Linked DNA regions of Homo sapiens: regions 1, 2, 4, 5, 6 and 7 are each linked to region 3. The links are contacts of gene promoters, found by promoter capture Hi-C in blood cells and fetal thymus (Javierre and others, 2016). All regions are on one chromosome and are shown on one strand. The core of a region is centred on a gene start or on the middle of the fragment in contact, and the rest is flanking DNA. Distances in the headings are between cores, read along the strand shown. Region 1 overlaps U2SURP (U2 snRNP associated SURP domain containing). Region 2 overlaps SLC9A9 (solute carrier family 9 member A9). Region 3 holds the start of SLC9A9-AS1 (SLC9A9 antisense RNA 1). Region 4 overlaps SLC9A9 (solute carrier family 9 member A9). Region 5 overlaps SLC9A9 (solute carrier family 9 member A9). Region 6 overlaps SLC9A9 (solute carrier family 9 member A9). Region 7 overlaps SLC9A9 (solute carrier family 9 member A9).

What was found. The method cuts DNA at HindIII sites, captures the fragments that hold promoters and counts their contacts. A CHiCAGO score of 5 or more calls a contact.
Region 1: a contact is called between a fragment that was not itself captured here and the fragment with the promoter of SLC9A9-AS1 in region 3, in 4 of 17 cell types (M0 macrophages, naive B cells, M1 macrophages and 1 more). The highest score is 6.2, in M0 macrophages.
Region 2: a fragment that was not itself captured here is called in contact with the fragment with the promoter of SLC9A9-AS1 in region 3 in 10 of 17 cell types (M2 macrophages, M1 macrophages, M0 macrophages and 7 more); the score reaches 14.9 in M2 macrophages.
Region 4: a contact is called between a fragment that was not itself captured here and the fragment with the promoter of SLC9A9-AS1 in region 3, in 9 of 17 cell types (M2 macrophages, naive B cells, erythroblasts and 6 more). The highest score is 11.9, in M2 macrophages.
Region 5: a contact is called between a fragment that was not itself captured here and the fragment with the promoter of SLC9A9-AS1 in region 3, in 2 of 17 cell types (fetal thymus and naive B cells). The highest score is 5.8, in fetal thymus.
Region 6: a contact is called between a fragment that was not itself captured here and the fragment with the promoter of SLC9A9-AS1 in region 3, in 8 of 17 cell types (M2 macrophages, M1 macrophages, M0 macrophages and 5 more). The highest score is 9.5, in M2 macrophages.
Region 7: a contact is called between a fragment that was not itself captured here and the fragment with the promoter of SLC9A9-AS1 in region 3, in 7 of 17 cell types (M0 macrophages, M2 macrophages, naive B cells and 4 more). The highest score is 11.0, in M0 macrophages.

The regions. Positions count from the first base shown.
Region 1 is chr3:143,039,611-143,043,296 of GRCh38, forward strand. U2SURP (U2 snRNP associated SURP domain containing) reads left to right here. Exons shown (of 28, transcript NM_001080415.2): 24 at 3,507-3,666. Among named protein-coding and RNA genes, the nearest start is that of U2SURP, 40 kb to the left of the region's middle. The HindIII fragment of the contact is 2,351 bases long and covers 793-3,143 here.
Region 2 is chr3:143,667,025-143,670,763 of GRCh38, forward strand. The region is part of intron 5 of SLC9A9 (solute carrier family 9 member A9); the gene reads right to left. Among named protein-coding and RNA genes, the nearest start is that of SLC9A9, 180 kb to the right of the region's middle. RefSeq lists an enhancer at 2,394-2,443. The HindIII fragment of the contact is 939 bases long and covers 1,816-2,754 here.
Region 3 is chr3:143,340,976-143,344,351 of GRCh38, forward strand. It overlaps SLC9A9-AS1 (SLC9A9 antisense RNA 1), which reads left to right and starts at 1,271. Exons shown (of 4, transcript NR_048544.1): 1 at 1,271-1,309; 2 at 2,375-2,639. The region is part of intron 14 of SLC9A9 (solute carrier family 9 member A9); the gene reads right to left. The HindIII fragment of the contact is 6,948 bases long and covers 1-3,223 here.
Region 4 is chr3:143,634,148-143,637,999 of GRCh38, forward strand. All of the region lies in intron 6 of SLC9A9 (solute carrier family 9 member A9), which reads right to left. All of the region lies in intron 1 of LOC102724120 (a long non-coding RNA gene), which reads left to right. Among named protein-coding and RNA genes, the nearest start is that of SLC9A9, 210 kb to the right of the region's middle. The HindIII fragment of the contact is 3,196 bases long and covers 5-3,200 here.
Region 5 is chr3:143,716,034-143,719,794 of GRCh38, forward strand. The region is part of intron 4 of SLC9A9 (solute carrier family 9 member A9); the gene reads right to left. Among named protein-coding and RNA genes, the nearest start is that of SLC9A9, 130 kb to the right of the region's middle. The HindIII fragment of the contact is 3,635 bases long and covers 1-3,091 here.
Region 6 is chr3:143,684,250-143,687,690 of GRCh38, forward strand. The region is part of intron 5 of SLC9A9 (solute carrier family 9 member A9); the gene reads right to left. Among named protein-coding and RNA genes, the nearest start is that of SLC9A9, 160 kb to the right of the region's middle. The HindIII fragment of the contact is 2,001 bases long and covers 536-2,536 here.
Region 7 is chr3:143,650,831-143,654,347 of GRCh38, forward strand. SLC9A9 (solute carrier family 9 member A9) reads right to left here. Exons shown (of 16, transcript NM_173653.4): 6 at 1,425-1,530. All of the region lies in intron 1 of LOC102724120 (a long non-coding RNA gene), which reads left to right. Among named protein-coding and RNA genes, the nearest start is that of SLC9A9, 200 kb to the right of the region's middle. The HindIII fragment of the contact is 4,289 bases long and covers 1-3,517 here.

The DNA of each region.
Region 1 (3,686 bases), core at 718-3,217, 300 kb before region 3:
TTTTTTTTTTAAATGAGTAGGAAGAGATGGTATCACAAACACAAAGCACAGGTTACTGTCTTTAAAAATTTTGCGTTCTTCTATTCTCCAATGGAAGTGGGAACAAAGAGAAAACCCCTGTGTGTCCTAGCACAATATGGGCATTTGTGTGGATTTAATAAATGGGCATTTGGATTGTTGGGAAAATGTGATCAATCAGCAGGCTATAGAAACACAGTTTGATACGATGGTGAAAACTTGTCTACAATGATGTTTTTTCAGAAATGTTGGTGTGATTAGAACAAGTCAGCAATGATGATGACAAAATATTTACATAATGTTATAGATGTGGCTTGCTAATGGAAATACCTATCTGAGGCTGTTTAGGAATACACAAATTGAGAACCGTTTAGTTCAGTTTGCTTTAAAACAGTGGTTTTCTGAACCCTTTTTATGTTCGTGATCCTATGATTAGTAACATCTTACCATTTTAGAATCACTGCTTTAAAAGTAGTATACGTACTCATAAAATAATTATTTAATTTAGGGGGAAGGAAGGGTAGAAAAGCCGTTGAACTGAAAAAAGTATTGTTCTATTAGTTTTATTTCTAAAGGTATTAGTTTTTTGGCATAAAACTGATATTTGTGTTAATGTTTGGAATATGAATACATTTTAGCATTGATGTTGGAATACGCATACATTAATGGAAGCCTGGATCACTAGAAGTATAATTTTAGATTTTTCATTTTTCTTAGGAATTTCAGGTAAATCATGATAATGTAAAAATAACAAAGTACAAAGCAAGGAAAAAAAGCTTTTGTGCAGCTTGTGATCCTTGAAATGTTCTCATGCCTCACTACTACTCTCTAGTGGCTGAATCCTAAATGTCTTTTTACTTAAGGCTGATTTTGTAACTAGTAATTATTATATTTTGTGGCAATATTGTGATTCGTGGCAGAAATGTGATTTTTAAAGCATGTTTTGGAGAAAAGTTACAAAAAGCAGTTTCATTTGTATTGAATACTGTATGGATTTAGAATCTTGAATTTGCATGTCTTTTTAAAAAAAGAAGAGGAAGAAGCTGTGATAAGATTTGAACCTCGAATTGTGGCTAAAAGCTAAGGCCAAAACCAGTTTAGAAAAACTGCTTAAGCCTTGAAAAAATTATAATAGCAATTTAAAATATTTACATATTTTAAATCATGAATAGAGCTCATTTAAAAAGTCTTAAGTAATATGGTTAAATGTTTAATGTTCAGCCATCTAGACCCTTTCTGTGTGTATAAAAACATGCATAACTATTGACATAAATGATGTAATATTACTGTACATGCTATTCTGTGACACGTTTTTCATTCAATGTCATTGGTATTATGCCATTTTAATCTGTTTACCTGTTCTGTATTCATCTATGATTGAAAGCAAACATTTTGGTAAACATACAAGGATGTTTACCAAAGAATATTTGAAATTGCAAAAAAAAATTAGAAAAAATTTTACAGGCTAGAATTGGTTAAGTAATCAATATCTGCTGTATTATTGTTTCATAGTAACTGTGACTCAGTTTAACAAAGTCACGTCCTTATTGAGTCTTCTAGAATAATTCTTCAGTAAACATCCCTGTTTACATAAACACACATACACTTCAATCTAAAAGCATCTGAAACACTTGTATAATTTTATGTACCATAAAACAGGAAATTCTTGTGTTTTAAAAAAATTAACTAAAAACTGTATTTAGGAAATTTATGACAAATTAATGAGAAATATTAAGTAAAACTTTTTTTCCAAGAAGAATATTTTTAAACTGTTGGTTTGGACTTTTTTCTTCCTTAGCTAATATTGTATTGAGTTGTACCTGTATGGTGATATTAATGATTTGTGTGGTTCTGAAGATGAAGTTAGTAAAATATTTTAGTAATGTCTAGAAAGGACCTTTGGTTGAGAAATTTAAAAGCTAGTATCAGAGTTTTCTCAGTACCATATCTTTTCTGATTCTGAATTGACAGCCTTTCTTTTTATCTGCCTGGTGTAAATTTTTCTCTCATACAATGAAGGTCTTATTACATAAGACTTTAATTAAATTTTATTTGGAAAGAATTTGATTATAACTTTTTACATTATTAAGAATAATTCTACATGTATATTAAAAGGAATCTTTCTGCTCATCGTAGAATGTCCTTAGTACCCAAATACCAACATAGAAGGGCTTGCGAGATTCAAGTATTAAAGGCAAAACAGCGTTTGTTCTGGGTTATGCCAGTAATGTTATCACAGTCAACATTGTTTGTAAGGAATTTTGTTTGTATATATATAAACATTCTGAGTTTGTTTGTATATGGGTATCTTGTTTTGCCCAGATTTATTTGCCAATAGTATACACACACACACACACACACACAACCCAGTCTCAGAATGTATTTTTTTTAAAAAAACCATTTGTTCTTTGTGCTTCAAGAACATTTGGTTAATCCTGTACTAGCATTGATGACCAGCTTTACACACAGTTGCCTGTTTGTGTTTCCACTAGACTGCTTCTGGAAGGACAGGAGAATTTTTCTTCTTTGTATCCTAAGTGACTTACTCATGATAGTCTCTCAGGTTTTTATTTTCTTGTCTGACCCAGAACCAGTGCAACTTTCAGAATCAACTGAAATGTGAATACCGGTATTTGCTAATATATAAAATGCATACATTGCTTTATTATTAAGGTTATGTGCTAATCAGATAAGGTCTTTACCAGCTGTATTGGTTATTTCTTAGTAACTCTGTGACTCAAGCTCATGTATTTTCTAGATTGATTATAGGCTCTGCTGAAGTTACTAAAGGCACACATACAGCTTTTTTTATTTTTAATTTTTTTTAATTTTCATTTTAAAAGTTTTTGGGGTACAAGTGGTTTTGGGTTACATGGATATATTATTTAGTGGTGATTACTGAGATTTTGGTGCACCTGTCACCTGAACAATGTACACTGTACCCAATATATAGTCTTTTATCCCTCACCCCCCTCCCATCCTTCCATGTCCCAGAAGTCCATTGTATTATTCTTATGCCTTTACATCCTTATAGCTTAACTTTCACTTATAAATGAGAACATAGAATATTTGTGAATATTGTTGCTCACAATATGAGTGAAATAACTCAGGAATGGAGAACATAAAGCTTCTTGAAATCACTCTGAACTGTGAAGTATGCAGAAACTTGATTATTCGTTTCATTTAACTGCTGCAAGGAAAGTTTGTTGCAAATGGAAGGCACACAGATAACAACATAAGCAGAATTTATTACAGTATGCTTATGTTGAAGCTCACACATTTTCTGTGGAGGAAAGAAGTGTTTTATAAAATTGTCTGTAAAATATTGATAAAATATTTTGCAAAATATGCTTGAGGTATGAATTGTCCTATTATGTTTTGGCTATGTTATTTAAGCTCTAAGACAATGAAAAATAAAATAGGTAGACTGTAAAATATGGTACTCTCTTGCTGCCTTGACATACAATGTATTCTGCTTGTTTCTAAAGTCAAGAAGAAGAAAGTGAAGATGAAGAAGATACTCAAAGTTCCAAATCTGAAGAACATCATTTGTACTCTAATCCAATCAAAGAAGAAATGACTGAGTCTAAGTTCTCTAAGTACTCTGAAATGAGTGAGGAAAAACGAGCCAAACTTCGTGAAATTGAGGTTGGTGTTGCAGTGAAACT
Region 2 (3,739 bases), core at 1,035-3,534, 330 kb after region 3:
ACAATCCTAAGCCAAAAGAACAAAGCTGGAGGCATCATGCTACCTGACTTCAAACTATACTGCAAGGCTACAGTAACTAAAACAGCATGGTACTGGTACCAAAACAGAGATATAGACCAATGGAACAGAACAGAGCCCTCAGAAATAATACCACACATCTACAACCATCTGATCTTTGACAAACCTGACCAAAAAAGAAATGGGGAAAGGATTCCCTATTTAATAAAAGGTGCTGGGAAAACTGGCTAGCCATATGTAGAAAGCTGAAACTGGATCCCTTCCTTACACCTTATACAAAAATTAATTCAAGATGGATTAAAGACTTAAATGTTAGACTTAAAACCATAAAAACCCTCGAAGAAAACCTAGGCAATACCATTCAGGACATAGGCATGGGCAAGGACTTCATGTCTAAAACACCAAAAGCAATGGCAACAAAAGCCAAAATTGACAAATGGGATCTAATTAAACTAAAGAGCTTTTGCACAGCAAAAGAAACTACCATCAGAGTGAGCAGGCAACCTACAGAATGGGAGAAAATTTTTGCAATCTACCCATCTGACAAAGGGCTAATATCCAGAATCTACAAAGAACTTAAACAAATTTACAAGAAAAAAATCAAACAACCCCATGAAAAAGTGGGTGAATGATATGAACAGACACTTCTCAAAAGAAGACATTTATGCAGCCAAAAGACACATGAAAAAATGTTCATCATCACTGGCCATCAGAGAAATGTAAATCAAAACCACAATGAGAGAACATCTCATGCCAGTTATTATGGCGATCATTAAAAAGTCAGCAAACAACAGATGCCGGAGAGGATGTGGAGAAATAGGAACACTCTTACACTGTTGGTGGGAGTGTAAACTAGTTCAACCATTGTGGAAGACAATGTAGCGATTCCTCAAGGATCTAGAACCAGAAATACCATTTGACCCAGCAATCCCATTACTGGGTATATACCCAAAGGATTATAAATCATGCTGCCATAAAGACACATGCACACGTATGTTTATTGTGGCACTATTCACAATCGCAGACTTGGAACCAACCCAAATGTCCATCAATGATAGACTAGATTAAGGAAATGTGGCACATATACACCATGGAATTCTATGGAGCCATAAAAAAGGATGAGTTCATGTCCTTTGTAGGGACATGGATGAAGCTGGAAACCATCATTCTCAGCAAACTATCACAAGGACAGAAAACCAAACACCGCATGCTCTCACTCGTAGGTGGGAACTAAACAATGAGAACACTTGGACACAGGGTGGGGAACATCACACCCTGGGGCCTGTCGTGGGGTGGGGGGAGGGGGGAGGGATAGCATTAGGAGATATACCTAATGTAAATGACGAGTTAATGGGTGCAGCACACCAACATGGCGCATGTATACATATTTAACAATCCTGCACGTTGTGCACATGTACTGGAACTTAAAGTATAATAACAAAAAAAGTAAAAATAAAAAAAGAAAGTAGCATTTTAAAAAACCACCTCCCAATAAATAGCCTATAAACACTTTCACTTCCTTTTTTGAATAGAACTTTTTGGCTAAAAAGTTGATTATCACTGGTATTAGTTTGTTCATCTGCGCATTTGTCAATGCTTTTGATAGTTTCTGGAAAGCAATAGGCAATTAATTCTGTTTACTGAATAAATGAATTAACAAGTGAATGAATCTCTGAAGGTCACCCACCATGTGGTTAGCTCCTCGAGGATCAGAACAGCTCCTTTTCTCCTGTATTCTGCCCTCGTAATCAGGAACTTCTTTGCCCACTCACTGACCTGACAGAACTTGTTTCAAAAAGCTTTCTCCATTTCAGTGCAAAATAATAAATTGAACAACACAATTCCTTGTCTGTAGCACCCAGACAAAAGGTCAATTCTTGTCCTTTCTTGGCCGCTTTTCAAGAAATCCTGCCCAAGAGGCACCTGTGAGTCTTTATGGAACAAGAGGACCAAATCCCAGTCTGAGACTAGTGGCTGCTCTCCCATCCTAGGTACCTTTCTCTTAAGAAAGCACTCCCTTTTAGGGTTGTACAACTGCTGATCCTGCATTTACATAATCCAGAGAGTGAGTGCCTTCTTAAATTTTACTCCCTAGTTGCCTCACTCTTCCATGGTTTTGACCTCATCAACTTGGCTGAGTCCTAAAAAGAACCAGACAGCAAGGAAATACTCTCTAAGAATTACTGAATCCAATTTGTCTCAATGTACAATGTCTTCTTTAACACATAAATGGAATGTGTGGGCTGGACACTGACTTTCAAAACTTCCATCCTATACGTCTTTGAGCATTACTGAGAATAAACTGCTTTCATTTAAACGGAGACATTCTGTTCCCCAAAGCAGTGAGCCAGAGAGGTCTGTCAACCACAGCTGTTTCCCAGCTGTCCATGGAGCTGTTGAACTGCTTCAAACGGTTTTCAGTATGTTCTCGAAATTTCATCTTCAGAACACCTGGAGCCTTGCTTGATCCACTTTCAACATCCTGAAGCATTTATATAGTTGGTTGTTATCTATTATTGTGTCCAATTCTGTTCTGGAGGTGACTTTCCATAACTAGCTTCCAACTTCTGAAGCAAGACCTTTGTGCCAAGACCTTGCTATTTACAACTCTGTACTAAAGTAGAAAACAGTGGTTGGAAACTTGACTGTGATGTCAAACCAACCTGTGTTCTGATCAGACCCCAGCTGTTATGCAAATGAACTTGGTGATCTTGAGCAGGCTACTTAACCTCATTAAGCTTCAAGTAAGCTTCCTTGGTAAAATGGGGATAAAATAATCCCTTCTTCAGGTTTTTGGAGAATAATTAATTGGAGTTATTTATGCAAAATGTTTGGCATATTGTAAGTGCTTCATCAGTGGTGGTTACTGTATTGTTATTGTTCATGCCATCAAAACTATTAGTGGGTCAGTCCAGTATAAAATGGAATGACAGTTTCTACTTGTTTTCCTTTAACACTTAAAAATAACTTCAAATGAGAAAAAGTAGATATTATCAAGCAGAGAAATGTTAAAAACTCTTCTCTATCTCTCTTCCTTTCTCACAAATTACTCCCTTGAACTTCTGTATTTGGAAAGAACAGTTCCTATTCTGTGTCCATTTACTTTGTCTTTCTGAGTCTTAGGGTCTTCATCTAAAAATGAGGATGTTGAGCAAGATTGTCTTTAAGGGCCTTCCACATCTAAATTTCTATGGGTCTCACTCCAAACTCCAAACTGTAGTCTCCAGATGTGGAATGTGTATATTTTCCAAATCATGCGGATGGAGCCCTGATGCAGTGCTGGGATCAAGGGTGTGCTTTGCAGGGTTACAGAGCAGCATGTGCAATGGGCAGAACAATGTCAAGAAAAGTGATCATGAGTTTAACACTTCTCTGCATGAATGAGGGGAGGGCTGTCATAATTTCAAATGCATATGCCCTTGTTTTGACTGTGACTCTAAGGGTTACCAAGACAGGACACTCCAAAGAGTATCTGAGCCCAGGGAGACCTTGCTAATGTTCTGCAGGTGACGTCGTCTGTGGCCCTGGAGAGAAACATGGCTCATGGTTCTTCCAGCTGAGCTGTTATCTTCTTCATCTGGGCAAAATATTGGCTTGAGGTACAGGAGACCTTAAGCTTTCTCAGAGCCTTCTCCCCACCAGGTGGTACTCTGTGTTTACAAAGCTGCCTGGATTACCTCTGTCTTGTCTTTTAGACTACTGCCAGTTGTCGTATCTACCT
Region 3 (3,376 bases), core at 21-2,520:
TGGTAGCAGAACAATTAAGCTGAATAGGACACTTAATTCTAAGAAAGTTCTAAAGAAATCTTTAAAATTTTTAAGACTATCCCTCTCACTATCCTTTAGGCTGAAAGTCTGTCCAAATGTCTTTTGGCACTTATGTGGAATATGATGAATTCCTTTCGCTGGATGTATCTCAGGATAGCATTAATTTGGTGTGATCGGGAGGTGAATTTCTTTAGGATCTTTTTCACTGTTCATGTGCTGTTTTGCAGTTCCTTTGGAGTAGTGGGGGCTTAAGGGGGCTTAGCTTTCATAAACTTTTGGTCTTGAGAATATATACCTGAGATGGGGTCGGTTTGGGAGCCTCCAATGCCTGTCAATTTGGGAACTCCAGAGTAGGATTTTATAAAAATAATCATCCATTCATAACTGTATTGAGTTACAAGGGAGGGCAAGAGAGTCATCCCAGGTCATAGTCATACAATGTAAATTTAGACCAAGGGATGAAACGTGTTGGAGAACACCCTGCAATAATCATTATTGGGTATCTGTGAATTTAACACACTTTTCAGAATGGGACAAGTTGCTTGCCACGGTAGGAAAAGCTGTGCCAAATGTTTGAGGAGAAATGTGGAGAGGAATAACATTAGCTTCAGATACCAAATTGCAAGTTAAACTTCCTGAGGATTTCCCGAACCCTGTTCAAATAAATTAAAATTTTGTTTACCAAAATGACTCCGATATGCAAATACAGAACACAGTGTTATATAGGTGCTAGGGACTGAAATTTTTTACAATCATATAATTTATTGTAATACTTAATATTATGATAAGACCGTTAATTTATCATATTTTCCCTGTAGTGTTTACTCACATGGACGGGGATAGATCCAGATTTCATGAAGTCTGAAGGTTACCTAATTTTGGAGGCTATTCTTAATAAAAAGAATGCACACTTTTGAATATCAACACTGGTCCCTTACAAAGGACCCATGCAGATGAAGAGCCCTGAAAGCTGAGTTTCATTGATTCCGGGTGAAACTACCTCTGGATGTGGAGCTGTGTTATGGGAATACCGCATCACAGTCAGGACCCAGCTCTGCTGCCGCCTCAGTAGGAGGCAAAGGTGGAAACGTGGAAACTATGGTTATAAGGTTCATACTTTACTGACCATCATTGAAGCTGCTTGTTGGGTCCCTTAGGAAGGGATCTCTCAATGAAACAAACATTAGAGCTTCTTATTTTTTTTTGAGACAGTGTCTAACTCTGTCACCCAGGCTGGAGTGCAGTGGCACCATCTTGGCTCACTACAACCTCTGCTTCCTGGATTCAGGTGATTCTCCTACCTCAGCCTTCTAAGTAGCTAGGATTACAAGGCATGTGCTACCATACCGAGCTAATTTTTGTATTTTTAGTAGAGACAGGGTTTTGCCATATTGGCCAGGCTGATCTTGAACTGCTGACCTCAAGTGATCCACCCTTATGACCAGCAGACCCTGATCTAAGAAGCTAGATGATTCCTCATGAGGTCACTTATAAACCTTATTGCTGATGTATTTCAGTTTATTTATTGGACTATCTTAGATTTTAAACACCCCACCCAATGCCACCATCTATGTAGCAACTAGAGCAGGACTCACAAATAAAATAACCTTCAAGGCCAAACAGCTTCCAATAGCCAGATTTGTCAAGATTAACTTAAGGTTTTAAAATTAGGCAATGCTTGTAGACACAAACCACTGTGGGCACCATAAAATATCACCTTATTTCAAAAGACTGAGAAAACTGAAAATGACCTGAAAAATTCCTATTGAGTGATCTATTTAATCACTCAGGTGGGGTATGGTGTATCTGGTGCATGTTCAACCTCAGGTGCAGGTGCATGTGCATGCAAATATACACGCGCCACGCTTTTAACCATGCATCTCTCTTTGAAAAGATCATTCCTTCTTTCTTATCTATATGTGAACAAATTGTCAAAACAACCTCAAATGCTAGATGATATAATCCCCAAATGCTAGTAATATAAAAATGACTGTAATAATACAAGTGATATCATTGCTATACATAGCACCACACTTTTACTGTTTCTCAAATCTACAACTATCCTATTTTCTAGTGTTTGTTTATTTCTTTATTCACTGAAATGACTGATATGGGCAGTTTAGACACCCAGAGGAGGAGATAATGGTTTTGATTGTGCTAGATGGTTTGACTCTGCTGAGTGTATCCTATAGACTTAATACCAACAGAGGTCATGGATATTTTTTTCCCACTTCTTTTCCTCTTTATTGTTAAGGAGACTAATTGTGTGTGAGTGTATGACAGGAAATGTTTTGATTTTTTTGTAGTGGCAAGAACAGGAGGGCATTCTTTTAAACATCTTTTCATTTTCTAGGCAAAGCGTGGGAATGGAGGATGAGAGATAGTCAATTTTCAGAATAAGATGTTCTACCAAGATGTAAAGAGGGGAAAAAAAGTAACTTTCAACAGCTAGGCAAGAACTGCCACAAGCAGTAGTCGAAAAAATCAACGGCATGGTTTCCTAATGTGGTCTTGGATTCAGCAAGAAAATACTACAGAGAGAAAACTGCAGGAGTCCCTATTTTGTCCCCTCAAAATGAATTAAATGGTCTAGTGGAAGCTGAAGGACTCTGAAGATGGTGAGTCTACCACTGATTCTTCAGATGGTGTCAAAGATGATTCCTGGTTAGGTATAAAAAGCAGCACTTTTAGTCTGCTATTCATACATTAAAAATGACAGAGAATATACACCTAGAATATTTACCTAGTACTGCTGCCTTGGAAACATGGTTCTAGGTCTCAGGAGTTTCCCAACAAGGAGTCTTTGTGCTCTTGAGACCTCAACAATGTACTGAGCTGACTACCTCAGCAATATTCTATCTAAACTAACACCCAGGTATAGTGATCAATGGTCTAACCAGCTTGCAAGTTATGGCTGAAATAGTGGTTTACCTATCAAATCCATGTAACTCCCAGAATAATTATGATTCTATCTTTTGGGCTGGCAATTATTTAAATAAAATATTATTTACAAAGGAAACAGCAGGGAGAAGAATCATGTAAATTAGATTCATTAAGTGGACAGATTCACTTACAGTTCATTTTGGAATAATTTATGCCAGTTTTCTCTGATGTCATCTGTTGTTCAGGTTAACAATTAGCTCATTATTAACTGACAAAGGTTACTTTGTGTATTGGCAGAGGAAGGCATATTATTTGGGAAAGCTTCTATGACTACCGAGCTTTCATATGGGTGCAAGAGTTTATTTGCAAAAATCCAGCTCTTATTTTCTCAAACAATTCAATATCCTGATGCATATATCTCTGTATTCTCAGGAGGCTTTGCAGAGGAATATATTTCTCTTTGCTAGTGTAT
Region 4 (3,852 bases), core at 353-2,852, 290 kb after region 3:
TTTAAGCTTGAAATTCAGTAACTTTTTCAGATTATCTTATGCTGTCGATGATTCCAAATGAAACTTTCCTGAAATCTAGTGGGTCCTTTATGTCTATCTATTTATTACATTGTTTCGGGAGAATATTGTTTTACACCATGTTCTTATGATATTTTTCCAAGTGTTTTCTTCTTCAAAACCATCCAACTATCTGTCATTCATTTCTGTCATATTCTCTGGAGTCATTATATCTTTGTTCTTTTCTACTTTGTTTTGTGTTATTTCCCCAAATGCGTCTTCTATGTATTTAACAATATTTTCAGTGAAGTTCATTGTATTTTTGTGGCTTCTAGTGTCTTTTGTCTCTTTAGTGATTTTATTGATCTCTCCAACTTTTTCCCTGAGTATTGCCAGCACACTTTTAATCTCCCTTAATTATTTTATATCTCTTCTATAAAATTTTGAACTTTGCTCTGAACATTTTTGTTTGCTTGATACTTAGGAGCATTTGCTTGATGTTTATTGCTTCACACACACACACATATAGAGACAGAGAGATCCATATTTTCTGCAAGTCCTTCAGAATAATGGAGAACTCTTTGTCTACAATTTTTCTGAAATACTTTGATGTATTTGTTTGGGGATTGTGGGCTCTTCTTTGGCTTAAATTCCCTCCATTATTTATAAAAAATTACTTTGCAGTTTTAATGAATATATATTACTCCCTCCTTTTTGATTATAACTCATCTTTTTAAAAGCCTGACTATTATTTAAATAATTAAATAATAGTACAGGGAAAGGGGTGAAATAGGGTAGAGTAAGCTGAGGCTCACTGCTGTTTTAATTTGGGTTTTGTCCTGGTTATCTAGTGTTGCAGAGCAAACCACCCCACAACTGAGTGACTTAAAATAACAATCAGTTATTTTGTTCACATTTCTGCAAATTGGGCAGGGTGCAGTAGGTCCAGCTCATTTCTGCTCCACGTGGTATCAGCTGGGGCAGCTTGAATGGGGTTGCAGGATCCACTTCAAAGATGGATCGCCCACATGTCTGGCAAGTCTTGCTGGCTGTCGCTCCCTCTCCAGGTGGAACTCTCCACAGACTGATTTGGCTTCCTCACAGCAAGGTGGCTGGGTTCCAAGAGTAAGTTCTCTAAGCGAGAGGAGGTGGAAGCTGCTAGTTACTAAAGGCCTGGACCTGGAAACTGGGACAGCATCCCTTCTGTATTCTTTACACTGAAGGTGGGGCATAGACCCATTTCTGGATAGGAGTGTCAATGAATTTGGGGGCTATGTTTTAAAACTGCCACTGGCTGTCTCAAGCATCTGTCACCAAATCTGTTATTTCTTTGCTATTGGGAATACATCTTTTTGTAGTTTATGGCATTCAAATTGAGGTGGCACAGAGAAAAACCCCCGAAGTTGCGGATGAATTATGTTTTAATTTGAAAACTTCTCCTTTTCTTCCATACAAATAGCCTCCAGCAGAGTCCTTGGCTAGGAAACCAGAATGTGTCAGCATGATTTCTATTTGGCTGCTGTTTTGAGGGGTCAGACTATTTTCCCCATTTTCCCCTGACCCATCTACCTGATCTTAACTGTGCTCTAAACAGCAGAATATTGGATGCTCCTTTCAGTAGTATGATGTGCTATCAGGTCCGAGAGAAACAGACTTGGCTCAGCATCTTACCATCTCTTGTTTAAGATTTCACATTATTCAGCGGCAATACTTCATACTTAAATATTTCATAGTTTATAGTTTGGAGTTGTGAATACTTTCCTGTTTCAACGGCTATTTTTTTTCTATTTTTCAGTGTTTTTCTTAGTTTTAGTTTGTTTTCAGGGAGTCTAGTAGAATAAAACTATTTTATCCTGCTGTCTTAAGCAGAAGCTCCACATGATCTGTAGAATAGGCTTAAAAATATATGTTGTGGTTTTAGAAGTGAGTTTACATTGAAGATATAGTTTACTTGTGGGAGAATTGGCTTTTGAATCTTGTCATCCTGTCTCATAGCAGCTCTCCTTATTGTTTGTGGTGTCTTTTTGGTCCTTTACTAAAGTTAAAATTTTTCTTCTCAGATATCTTGTACATTTATTATTTAATGTTATTCTAATTATGTTAGATTTTTAAGATGCTATTATGAATAAAACTGTTTTCCATTACATGTTATCATTAATTGTTGCTGAAGTCCTGGAAAGCTACTGACTTTTGTCTGTCAATCATCTGTCTAGCCAGATTTCCGATTTCTCTAATATTTTGCCATTTAAGTCTCTTGTATTTTCTAAGTAGACAATCATATCCGCTCATCTATTAAGTATTTTATTTTGATTTTCCCAGTTTTAAATTTTTTAATATTTTTATAGATTTAGGGGGTACAGGGGCAGATTTATTACATGTGTATATTGCATAGCTGTGAAGCCTGGGCTTTTAGTGTATCCATCACCCAAATGGTGAACATTGTACCTAATAGGTAATTTTTCAGCCTCATTACCTTCCACCCTTCCACCTTTTGGAGTCTCTAATGTTTATTACTCCACTCTTTATGTCCACGTGTACCCATTATTTAGCTCCCATTTATAAGTGAGAATAAACAGAAGTGCAAAGCACTGGGGAATGAGATAATCTCCTGAGACTTCTACTTCCCCATCTCTGCAGGAGACAGTGAGCCTGACAACATGCAGAGTACACCACTACTAAAACCTACAAACAAGCAGCATTTGAGCAAGCCACTACACTAAGGCTATCTATAACCAAGGAATTCATACGGAGCCTTAGCCCCCACCCCAAGATCACAAATTAGCAAAGCCAAATGACCCTACCCAACATATGCAACAGTCACACTTTCAAGGGGAAAAATAAAGTCCCATTAAAATGAATGTAAATTCAAAAATAAGAAGTGACAGTTTCTCCAGATGAGAAGGAACCAACCAATTCTGTCACCATGAAAAAACAGTGTTGTAACACCCCTCAAGGATCACACTAGCTCTCTAGTGATGGATCTTATCCAAAATGAAAATTCTAAAATGACAGATAAAGAATTCAAAATATGGATCATAAGGGAGTTCAACGAGATCCAAGGGGAAGTTGAAAACCAATACAAAGAAATCTGAAAAACAATTCAAGATATGAATGAAAAATTTACTACAGAGATAGATATTTAAAGAAAGCACAAAACTCTGGAAATGAAAAATTTACAGATGGAATTACAAAATACAGTTGAAAGCTTTAACAATAGATTAGACAAAGCAGAAAAATTTCAAAGCTTGACTACATATCTTTTAAATTAACCCATTCAGACAAAAATAAAGCAAAAAGAATGTAAAAACTGAACAAAGGCTTTGATAAATATGGATTTTCCTATTTTGAATTTCTATGATTTATATTTCAAATTTCAGCTTATCCCTGTTTTGTAGATATAATAGCCATTTATATACACCTTAGTAAGTATATATGCTTTGGGCTTTAGTTTTCTATAATGTTGTTTCCCCTTAAAGTTGATCTTATTTGCTTTTATAATCTATAGCTTTAGCGTAACTGACATCTAAAATCTCAACAGGTTTTTATTTTTTAAAGGTGAGAATAGATATGTATACTAAAGTTGCCATCTTGATGAAATGAGAAAACCAACTTAAAGAGGTTGACTGACTTGCTCATTGGTATAAAACTAGTAAATAATAAAGTCAGAATCCAGACTGCCAACCCAACCTTTACTTCTCCATGGAGAAGTAAAACACATACTTTCCACATCTGAGGTTATGTTCTAAGATTAAAGTTTTTCCATGAAAACTTGTATTAGAATTACTAATGAAAAGAAAGCCAACTGCATACATGCATATATTTTTCTACTTTTCCTAACTTTTTCTTATAAGTTAT
Region 5 (3,761 bases), core at 24-2,523, 380 kb after region 3:
TGAGCCATTTTCAAAAGAGAAATGGTGCTTTTTCTTTGAGACTCAAATGCCATTTTTTTGAGACAGAATCTTACTCTGTTGCCCAGGTTGGATTGCAGTGGCACCACCATGGCTTACTGTAGCCTTGACCTCCTGGGCTCAAGAGATCCTCCTGCCTCAGCCTCCTGAGTAGCTAAGACTACAGATGTGTGCCACCATGCCAGGCTCATTTTTTATTATTTGTAGAGATGGGGTCTCCCTATGTTGTCTGAGCTGGTCTCAGACTCCTGGGCTCAAGCAATTCTCCCACCTCAGCCTCCCAAAATGTTGGGATTACAAGCATAAGCCACTGCACCTGGCTTTTTTTTATGTCAGTATTTTTTTTTTTAAGGAAAATCACATACTTAGTTTCTTATTAAATTTTATCAGTTAATTATCAGTTCACATCAAAGAAGAGATGAGTTAGAGTGTCTTATCCCAGACTCTTGTCAAGTGGAGAAGAGTGGCCAACATTGGTCAGGGAGATTAGGCAGGACTCAGGCAAGTTTCTCCTTTCAGGAGGTTGTGAGAACCAAGAGGAAGAAGGACACTCAGAAAAAGCACACTATGGAAGCAGTAGGTCAAAGTTAGGAAATCAGTCCAGAATAGGGTTACCAGTTCAAAAGATGAGGGACAAAGTATTGACACAAAAACAAAACAAATCAATCCTCAGATAAATAAACAATCAAGATGACGACCACAGGGGAGATGCTGAGTGAGCAAATATGGAGCAGGCAGAGGGAAAGAAAAAAGAGACAATTCCCAAGGGAGAATATAGGATGGTACCAATGCCGTTTATGTGGCTCTTTTGCTGTTGGCTTGCACAACTGAGAGGCCTATGGGAGGCAACAGTAATGTGTTCACTGACCACAACTCGTGAGACCAGGGATGGGCAAAGGAGGAAGGGCAAGGAGACGAGGAATGGAGGGGGAGGAAGGCAAATGAATCACAGCCTTCAGCTGCTTCACAATCAGTAGCTCCTAGAGTTTAAAAAGACTTCCCTGAGAGCCTCCCAGGGTGGGTATGCCATGGCAGAACCCCTTCTGGGATATAAGGGATGTCCTTACACTAAACATAACCTCATACAGATCAGTGCTTTTCCAACCATGATGTGCATATCAATCATTTAGGTATCTGGTTAATATGTAGACTATTATTCAGTAGATCTGTTGGGGAGGCAGGTGCTGAGATTATGAATTCTAATACAGTCCCAGTGATACCATGTTGCTGGTCACTGGACTAGATGTTTTGTGTCAAGGTTGTAAACTAAGGTCAAGGTCATTTCCTAATGAATGGCTCTGACTATGGCTTCTCTCTTTAATTCCTCAGCTACCATAGAAGTTGAAAATTGGTTGTTGAGTGGCAGTGAGTGTTTATGAAATTGTTAGAATTCGTGGCTGACAATAAACAGATTACACATAAAAATTCAGGCTATGAGCTTCTCTTGGAAAATAAGAAGATCTGGCAATGTTGGGCCATTGTTTTCTCATGGAAACAATGGAAACAATCCATTGGAGCTTAGTGGTGGCTGCCTGGCTGCCTCCTTTTGATGGGGACACTTTCTACACTTGCCAGGCTGAACTACCCTTATATCTAAGTGATTTCAATCTTTTACATCACTGGCCTAGTCCCTTTTTGCATTTGTGTTTGTGAATTCTGATATACTAGTTTGAACCAAGATGCACCCCATTTGTTGGAAGGTGTTTTTTCTTCCAGTAAAGTCTTTTTAGTAGTCAATGCAATTCTTCATTTCAGAGAGAGCTATATCACTGGGATTGAGGATAGAAACAAGTCCATACACACAAAAAATCACATTTTCTGTTGCAAATGGCCTTGTCCATTTGCAGATAAGGAAAGGAAAAATGAATTGTTATACAGAGGCAAGGTTAGTAGATCTACACTTCACAATGTGGATGCAATATTCTCAGTGGCAAAAATGAATCAGCTGAACATGTTCAACAACAACTGAAGAATCCAGATGGTTATAGAAAGTTCAAGCCACACAAGTTAAAATCAAATAGGTAATGTGGAGTTAAACAGGAAAAAAAAAAAAGATAGTGCATCCCACCTAAGCCATTTCATACGAATTGGCACATTTATCAGTCTCTGACTTGAAAACATTAAGAACAAAAGGAAACATTCAGAGAGAACAACATAAAGCTGAAATAACCCCTTTTTCCTCTTTGCAATCTTTGGATGTGCAAACTCACCTACTGGTTTGATTTGCACTGTTTACTTACATTTTTCTATTCCTGTTACATATTTCTCTCCCCCACACACAGGATTTTGAGAAGAAACTCAGGGGAAAATGTTTTCTTTGCATACTTGTTTCATGATTTTTTTGAAACAGTATCCATAACACCAACAGCATCCTCACAGAAAGAACATTTCTGCCTTTGTTACAGAATGAAGAGGTTTGAATTAAAGGCACAGACACCAATGTGCCCGCGAGATTGGATCAGGTTCAGCTGTGTCCCAGCCATCCCAGCAGCTCTCACCTGGAGCTGAAACCCTCATGGAGTGAAATGCCTGGGTTCCACCACCTTCCTGGCCCCTTCCCACGTAACAGCTGAACAGGCAGGTTCTGCTATTGCCCTTTAAGCCCTTCATAGCACCTCCCACAGGCTTTTCCGGCTCAGTTCTGCAGCTGCTCACCTGGATCAGCCCACGCAGGCAGTATCTCGTGTATTGAACATTCCCTCTTTTTTCTTCTTTCATCAAAAATTATCAGTCATGAATTCCATTCCTTTAGGGCTTTGATTTCTGAGTTTCGAGGTGACAATTGAATATAAGGTAAAGAGCATTTGACTTGAAATCAGAAACTCGGAGTTTAGCTCTAAGCATTCCTATTTAGTAGCTACTTAATCTAGGACGACTTAGCCCCTCAGTTGTCAGTCTCTTCCTCTGCACAATGAAAACAATACCAACCTAGAGGGCTATTATGCTTACTTCACAGTAGGTAGCTCAATAAATGGTTGTTTAATCTTAAACGGATAAATGGAACGTTAACTTCTTAATGTGTTCTATAAATTTGTATTTGGTTCTTATAGGACACAACACACACTTACTGAGAAGCTTTATCTGTGGGCATTTATGTTCCATGGAAGATAAAGGGCTCAGGTTTTCCTTGTGCGGACAGATCTTTGAAGGTAGTTGAGTGACTTGCCATCTTATAGTCTACAAACTTTGGGGTAGGGCTTGCAGCTTCCTCAACACACCTCCATTTCTACTGGGAAACATGTGGGATGCAGTGGCCCAGGGCACCAAATGCACAGGCAAGAGGCCTGATGATGAAATCAATTGTATATTTAAACCCTGATTTTACTTGGGAAAATGTCCCCTTTTCCTGTGTCTTTAATAAAAATCCATGATGAAAGGCCCCAAGTAGGGCCTTTCAGGGATGGGAGAAATTCATTAAAAGAGTTCTGGATCCTCAGCATTTAGTTGCCTTTGCCCCAATTAATTGAGACACTATTTTATTTGAGGATCTGCTTATTTTCCCTAACAGGGAGATGGTGAGATTCTTTACAATGATGTGGCCCAGGGCAGGTATCATATGTTATTCTTCTTCATATCTTCAACGCCTAGGTCAGTGCCAGGCATGTAACAGGTGCCGAACAATTTCTTTTTAAGAACATTTATAATAAATGAAAAAGAAGCCATACTGCTATAGTAGTACTGAACTATCCCCAATTCTGATCCTGCATAAACTTTCCAATTTAAATATTACCCTTCATCCTTCA
Region 6 (3,441 bases), core at 286-2,785, 340 kb after region 3:
TTAAATATTATCTAGTGTTGATGATGATACAGATAAAGAAATAGATCCTATTAAGCACTTGTGTATTTTGCCTTGTTTGGTGAGAGAACTGAACTAATAATTTACATCAAATAGATTTTTAAAATCTGAACTTGATGAAAAAAATCATGGACTGTATTTTCCAGCTGGCTATGCAGGTTGTCTCCCTTTACTCATTTTAGATAAGTATTTACTTTTCATATTGAGTCTACCCAATTTAGGAACATTAAATGTGTCAACACACTTTGAAACCATGCTAACGTAATATAAATACCAAGTTTCTTGAACCTGTGACATGTTACATAAGAGAAAACAGTAATGGGTGTTTCAAAAACAATGCTGAGATTGTCAGGCTTAAGAACTTATTTATATTCTTACAAAAAGAATACAATTGAGACATTTGGGCAGGAGTTTATTTAATCCACTGTCCCCAAGTCAGAGGCTACAGTATTTGTGGTTTAAATGGCACATATATGATATTTGAATCATATAGATATTTACCCTCTTTTATTTCTGAAGCTTGGGTATAAAGTAGTTTATAGGTTATTATGCATCAAAGCAGAAAAATGAGACTGGGAGGAGAGATTTTAGAAAGCAAATCTCAGACATATTAATTCAATCTCATAAAAATAAATCGCCTATATTTTACCAAATGGTATAATCTATGTGGTGCATTGTATCTGTAATTAATACTGTATTTGTATTTAATACTCAATTTTAAATTATTACAGTATTTCTATTAAGGGTCATGGTTTTGGTTTCCAACAGTTTCATTTCCATATATCTTTATAGCAGTGCTGTCCAATAAAAATTTAACTCAAGCCACATATGTAATTTTAAATATTCTAGTAGTCTTCTTAAAAAGGTAAAAAGAAAACAAGTAAAATTAATTTTATAGGATATTTTATTTAACTTGATATTAAGTGAATATTATTTCAACATGTAATTAATACTGTATAAAATTATTAATGAGATGTTTCACTTTTTTCAAATGATGTCTTGGAAATCTAGGGTGTATTTATACTTGCAGCCCATATCAATCTGGACTAGTCACATTTCTAGGGTTCAGTAGCAACATGTATCTCGTAAGTATCATGTCGGATACAGCAACTCTAGAATGTGCCCTATCTAATGTTACCTAAATCAAGACACCCTGGATTAATTCTCTAGGAGGAAAATTGGACAAGTCTCTGAATTAATAATTATTTTCTAGTTTTGAATACTGGATTAATACTTCTGGAGCTCAAAATAGTGCAGCTGTATTTGAGTCTCAATGCAGCTGCATCATGTAAAATGAAGATACTCTAATCCAAATAGGAAACAGGGAAATTGATGAAGTGAGAAAATGCACAGAACACATGTACTTGAATGAGTGGCTTCCTGAAGACCTTGGAGGAAATGTCAGTTCCATAAATACCAGGATGAGTTTCTGGCATCTTCTGGGTGATTATTTAATACTTGATGCAATGTGCTGAGTTCTTCCTTTTCCTAAAAGAAGCTACTATTTTGAACATCTTCCAACTTAGAAAAAACACACGATTATAACTGCTTCTTGCAAGTCCACAAACCATAGCTTGAAATGCTCTGGAAAATGTTCAGCCACTGACCACCAGATAAACAGAAGAAAGAAATATTTGCTACATGGTTGGACAAGAGGAAAGGCACATATCTTTGTTTTAGTTAAATATATCTTCTTTGGTGGACAGAAACTGATAAAGCCACTCAGCTATGTACTAGAAGTCCAGCTATGTGCTAGAAATGCAGCTATGTGCTGGAAGTCTACCCTCACCTTGGGAGACTGCCCTTCCAGGGGCCATGAGACACCTCATCCGCGAGGGTGACCTGGGATACTCAACTACTTCACATTTCATAATTGAAAAGAGATACCCTTCCACACTCCACACTTTGCCCTAGCAGTTTCTTCCTCAAGTTGTATTAATTCACTGATTTAACAGGTATTTATTAAAAGCTCGCTGTTCTAGATATCAGAACTGTAAGACTGAAAAGAGGAAAAAAATCCAGAAAAATAGAAAAAAATCTCCCACACAGAAGACAAAGAAGTAAATAAATAGGTAAATAAAGAACTAAATAAATTGATCAATAGTGATTAGTAATTAGTGATGTGGAGGAAAGTAAGGCACGGACAGGGGATAGAAAGCTCTGTGATTAGGGGTGTCTGGGCAAGGGGGTGCAGTATTTAATAGGGTGAGCAAGAAAGGCTCTCACTGAGGTGACAGTTGAGCATAGACCTGAAGAAGGTGGGGAGGGAGCAACAAGCGAAAATACACCAAAGCAGCCACAAAACTGGTATGTTCAAGGCTCATGGGTATGCTTGTATCTCCACATATCTTTACACACCTTAAGGACTCCCCTCTTTATCCACCTACCCGATATGAAAGGAGATTTCCAACTTGTTAATCAAAATTGTTATCTTGGATAGTCAAATTTACCAAACGAGACCCCAAGACAGCAATGAAAAAGACAAGAGGAGAGTATGAGGCTGGACAGCTCCTTGACAAGCTTTGGCTAATCGCAAAATGAGAGCTGTTAAACGAATCATCTATTTCCAGCTGTTTGGGCTTTTGCTCTCTTAAGTTTTGTTTATCTTTCCTCTCCCATTCCCCATCCTCCTAGTCTCTGTTTTTTGCACACACCAGAAGAAGAGCTGGCTCATTCATTGAGCCCTCTGTGTATTTCTTTCTTTCCCTGTCCTGCCATTTTCCATATACTGTCTCTTTGGTTGTTCTGCCTTTCACTGTCCACTTGTTAAGTGCTGATGATGACCTTTCCATCATCAGCAAGATCTTCATCAGTAAGGAAAGGAGGAGATAAAATGAATCAAATTATAGTCAAATAATCCCAAATGGAGCTAAATCGAAAATTGGCTGAGAGTCTGAAATGTGCAGAAGAATTAGATTTAAGACTAAATGTGTATCCATAAAAGATGAATATGAAGGAAATAATAACAGCTAGCTAATATTTAGCTAAGGCTAAATGGGAAATAATTAATTTTTAAATGGCCAAGAAATGTCAGACCTGCAGAGCATAGGTTTCCTCTCGTAAATTAGTGAGTCACAATAATTTAGGCAATAAATGAATAATTGTGGGGTAAGATTAACTAGGTGTTTTAAGGTTGTTGAAGATCTTAAATTGCACCAATTTAGCAGAGAGTGGGTTCGGCATGTTTTAATATAACAATTAGTTCCCAGTAAAAGAAGAGAATTTAAGGGTTCCTATTCATGTGTGGGTTTCTACCTTATGAGATATCTTTAGCATTTGTTGATTTGAGGTTGGAACCTCAGAATATAGTTAGCAGGCTTCGGGTTGACTTTCATTTTCCCTAAAATAAAAGATTGTTTTAAAATAAAAACCAGTCTCACAGGAATAAAAATCATGGAATGTTAGATCTAGAAGGATATTAGA
Region 7 (3,517 bases), core at 642-3,141, 310 kb after region 3:
GGAGATACTACATGGACTATTTCAAATGCTCCCAGGTTGGTGCTCAACAGCATCAACATTTATTCTTAGAGTCTGCATTTTTAATGGAAAACTACTGTGAATGGTGGTCCTGAAAGCAGAAAGGCCAAACCTTTCCTGGTTGTGTCGGCATGATTCTTTCCCAAGCTCATTTGCACTTTAGTGGTTTTGCTTTGCTTGGCCTTTTCCAACTTGGCAGCTCAGGAAGTAAAAATGAGGAACTCAGCAGATTTTTAAAGAGTTTTACTCCAAATGTTCTTTTAATGCTAGTATTTCTTGGACAGGGATTCCTGATGTCCTAATTAATTGTTCTTGGTGTTTCTTTAAAAGCATCCTTTAGCATTTGTGAATCTGCCCATGGCTTTTGCTCTTAATTTGCACTCACTGATATTTTCCTTTAAAGCAGGAAAGACACTTCTCTGTGGCCAGGTGAAATATAAGTATATTTGGAGACACACTTGAAAATTGTTGAATTCACTGTCAACTTTGGGGCAGCAGCCTTAAGAAATGTCAACTGGCAAAAAGAAAGAAAAAAAAGAGTAGTGCTGCTCTGTCATTTCTTACTCCCCTCTGTGAGATCTGACTTTAACAATCTTTTGTTACTTCACAATACATTTTAAACTGCATTTGAAGTAATTAACACCCAGAATAGAATCTTTTTGTCACATTGAATTATCAGATATTGACTTTCCTTTGGGATATCTGACAGTTGCCCAAAATGTTGGTCTTAATCTAAAACCAAGAAGAGACCTCTGACATAGTGAAAGCCACTGAAGTGGCATTTATTAAATATAAATGGTAAGTGTCTAAAGGGGAGGTAAGGAAAGAGCACTGGCTCTCATCCCCCCACCCTAATATCCTTCCAGCGCAAAGGGAAATTGCACTGGTGCTGAGCTGAAGCTCCATCAGTTTCATCCGTCATGTGATGTTTTAAAGATGTATGCATTCCTATACAGCATTACCTTTGCATTGAGAAATAAAGAGTATTCTGACCCTTAGGTTCTGGCTCCAATCTGCCAATCTGCCCATAAATACAAGGGTTTCTATTAGACTATTATCTGGAAAGTGACTTATATAAGGCGAAAAATTAAATGATATTGATTTGAAATGAAAAAAGCTCATTTATGTGCATTTTAGGAACCTAAGTGAATCAGCTAAATATATGCACTGAGAAAAATAAGTTACCCTCTAGGTAGTATCTTGTAATAAGCTGGAAACATAAAACCCATTAATAGTATTAGAAATTAGATGCCTAATGAATTGTGCCCATTATGGAAATTTTCTGTGATAACAATTCCTTGAAAAAAGCTAGAGACTGCCCGTATCTCTGTGACATAAGAGAAAAGATACAAGTGAAAGCATATTTCACATGATTAAAGAAACATAGGCCAAGTTCTGGTACTTACTATGTAAGGACTATGGCCACTGCATCATTCAACACACTCTCTCCAAACAAGAGTGTGTACAGGTCAGGGTCGACGTGCAGTTCATGGAAAATGGCCAGCACTGTCACTAGGAAGACACACACAAACATGCAGGTTAGCTTGGATGCAGGCATGGAGTTTTCCTTGGCTATGGTCACCACTCAAAAACATTAATGAAATGCTCATCTTCTCAAATCCAATGACTATACTAACACCAGACCTTTATTCAAAAAATATCTGATGCTTAAGAGGCTTCTCTTGGCTCCCTACTGCTTAAAGATAAAATTTGAGCTCCAAAGTACAAGTACCCTACAATCTGCACCTTGCTTACCTTCTAGCCTCATCTCCCTCTGCCCCCTTTGCTGCCTTTCTCAAGTCACACTGAACTTGCCATAATTTCCCAAACACACTGTGTAGTTTCTTAACTACCTTTGCATTTTGATTCCTTCTACTATGGCAGCAATTCCTTCCTCGTCCACTTGCTACCATCCTTGTATTCCTTAAATACACACACACACACACACACACACACACACACACTTCTTGCTACCAAGGACTCATTTTTTTCATTCTTTAAGAACCTTTCAACTGTCCCCCTCCCAACCCTTCAACTGCCTCAGCAGAGGCCTGGCTCACTCCTTTCTGGATCCCAGCATTTGGATCAAATCACTGAACTTACCACAGAAAGGACTGGGAGCTCCCTGGAAATGGGGTTCATCTTTGGACACATGGTGTTAGACCATACTCAGTAACTGCTTGATGCATGAATGACTAAATGAATGAGTGAATGAATAAATGAATAAATGTTGTTGCAATGGCCTACTCCTGTGAAGGGAGACACGGTTCCACCTGAGTCTCATTCTGTCCTGAGATCACACTCACCCGTGAAGATGGACTCAATGATCTTAAGAACAGGACATGAGGATTTGTTTCTGGTTGCCTGCTGCATGGCCTGCTACTATATGCCATGTTCTTGTATTGAGCCTCTGTGAGTACATTAGGGCAGTCAATACTCACACACTGATTATCTGTGTTCATCAAAACTATTCAATATCTTGATATTTAAAACAGTTAAGCAGAGTGTGAACAGCAATCATTAGGAAAATGATCCATTGAATTAATTGCCAAGGGGGAAAGAGGGAGGTTGAAAATGATATTGATGGCAAATGTCTAAGGCAGAATGGGTATTTTTAATTCTGTTTTTCCTTTCCTATTTCATGGGTGGTGAGGTTAGTAACTGTGTTGTACAAAACAGTGCTACGAGGAAATAAAAGCAAGACAGACAAGTTGAATGTGAAGGTTTTATAAGTAGGATTAAGAAGTTTGGAGCTTGTTCTTTCATAATAGAGAGTCATGAAGGGTTTTAATAAGAGAGATGACACAATCTGAACTTTGGAAATAAAGCTCAGGCAGAAGAGCAGAGGGCAGAATGGACACATGGCTGGAGGCTTTCCCAATAATTTCAGGAAGAGATGAGTTGTACCAGGACAGGAAGAGGCCCGGATTCATGCTCCCAAACTCTTACATGTTCACTGTCCTGGGTTCTAATAGACCAATGACCACTGTGCTTTGTACTTCACAAATATACCTCACTGGTTTTCATCTTCTCTGTGTGCCACAAGCCCTTAGCACAGTGATGCGACATAGTAAGCCTTTAATGAGTGAACGAATAAGAGAGAACATCAAGGAAGATATAGCAGAGGTGACAGCACCCCAGAGATATTTGAGATGGAAAATTGGTGGGTGTTGGTGCTTGAGAGGCAGCAAGGAATGACTCTGGATTTTGATCTATTGTACAACATGTGACTATATTTAGTAGCAATGTATTGTACACTTGAAAATTGCTGAGAGAGCAGATTTTAAGTGTTCTAAGCACAATGACAAAAGCATGCGAGGTAATACATATATTAATAAGCCTGATTTAGCTATTCTGCAAGATATGCATATTTCAAAAAATTATGCTGTGTACATAATATATACAGTTCTTGTCAATTAAAAAGTGTTTTTAAAGAAGTTACTGCAAAATCCAAAAAAAGAAAGAAAATGCCATATGAATTGACATGACAATTGGCCAG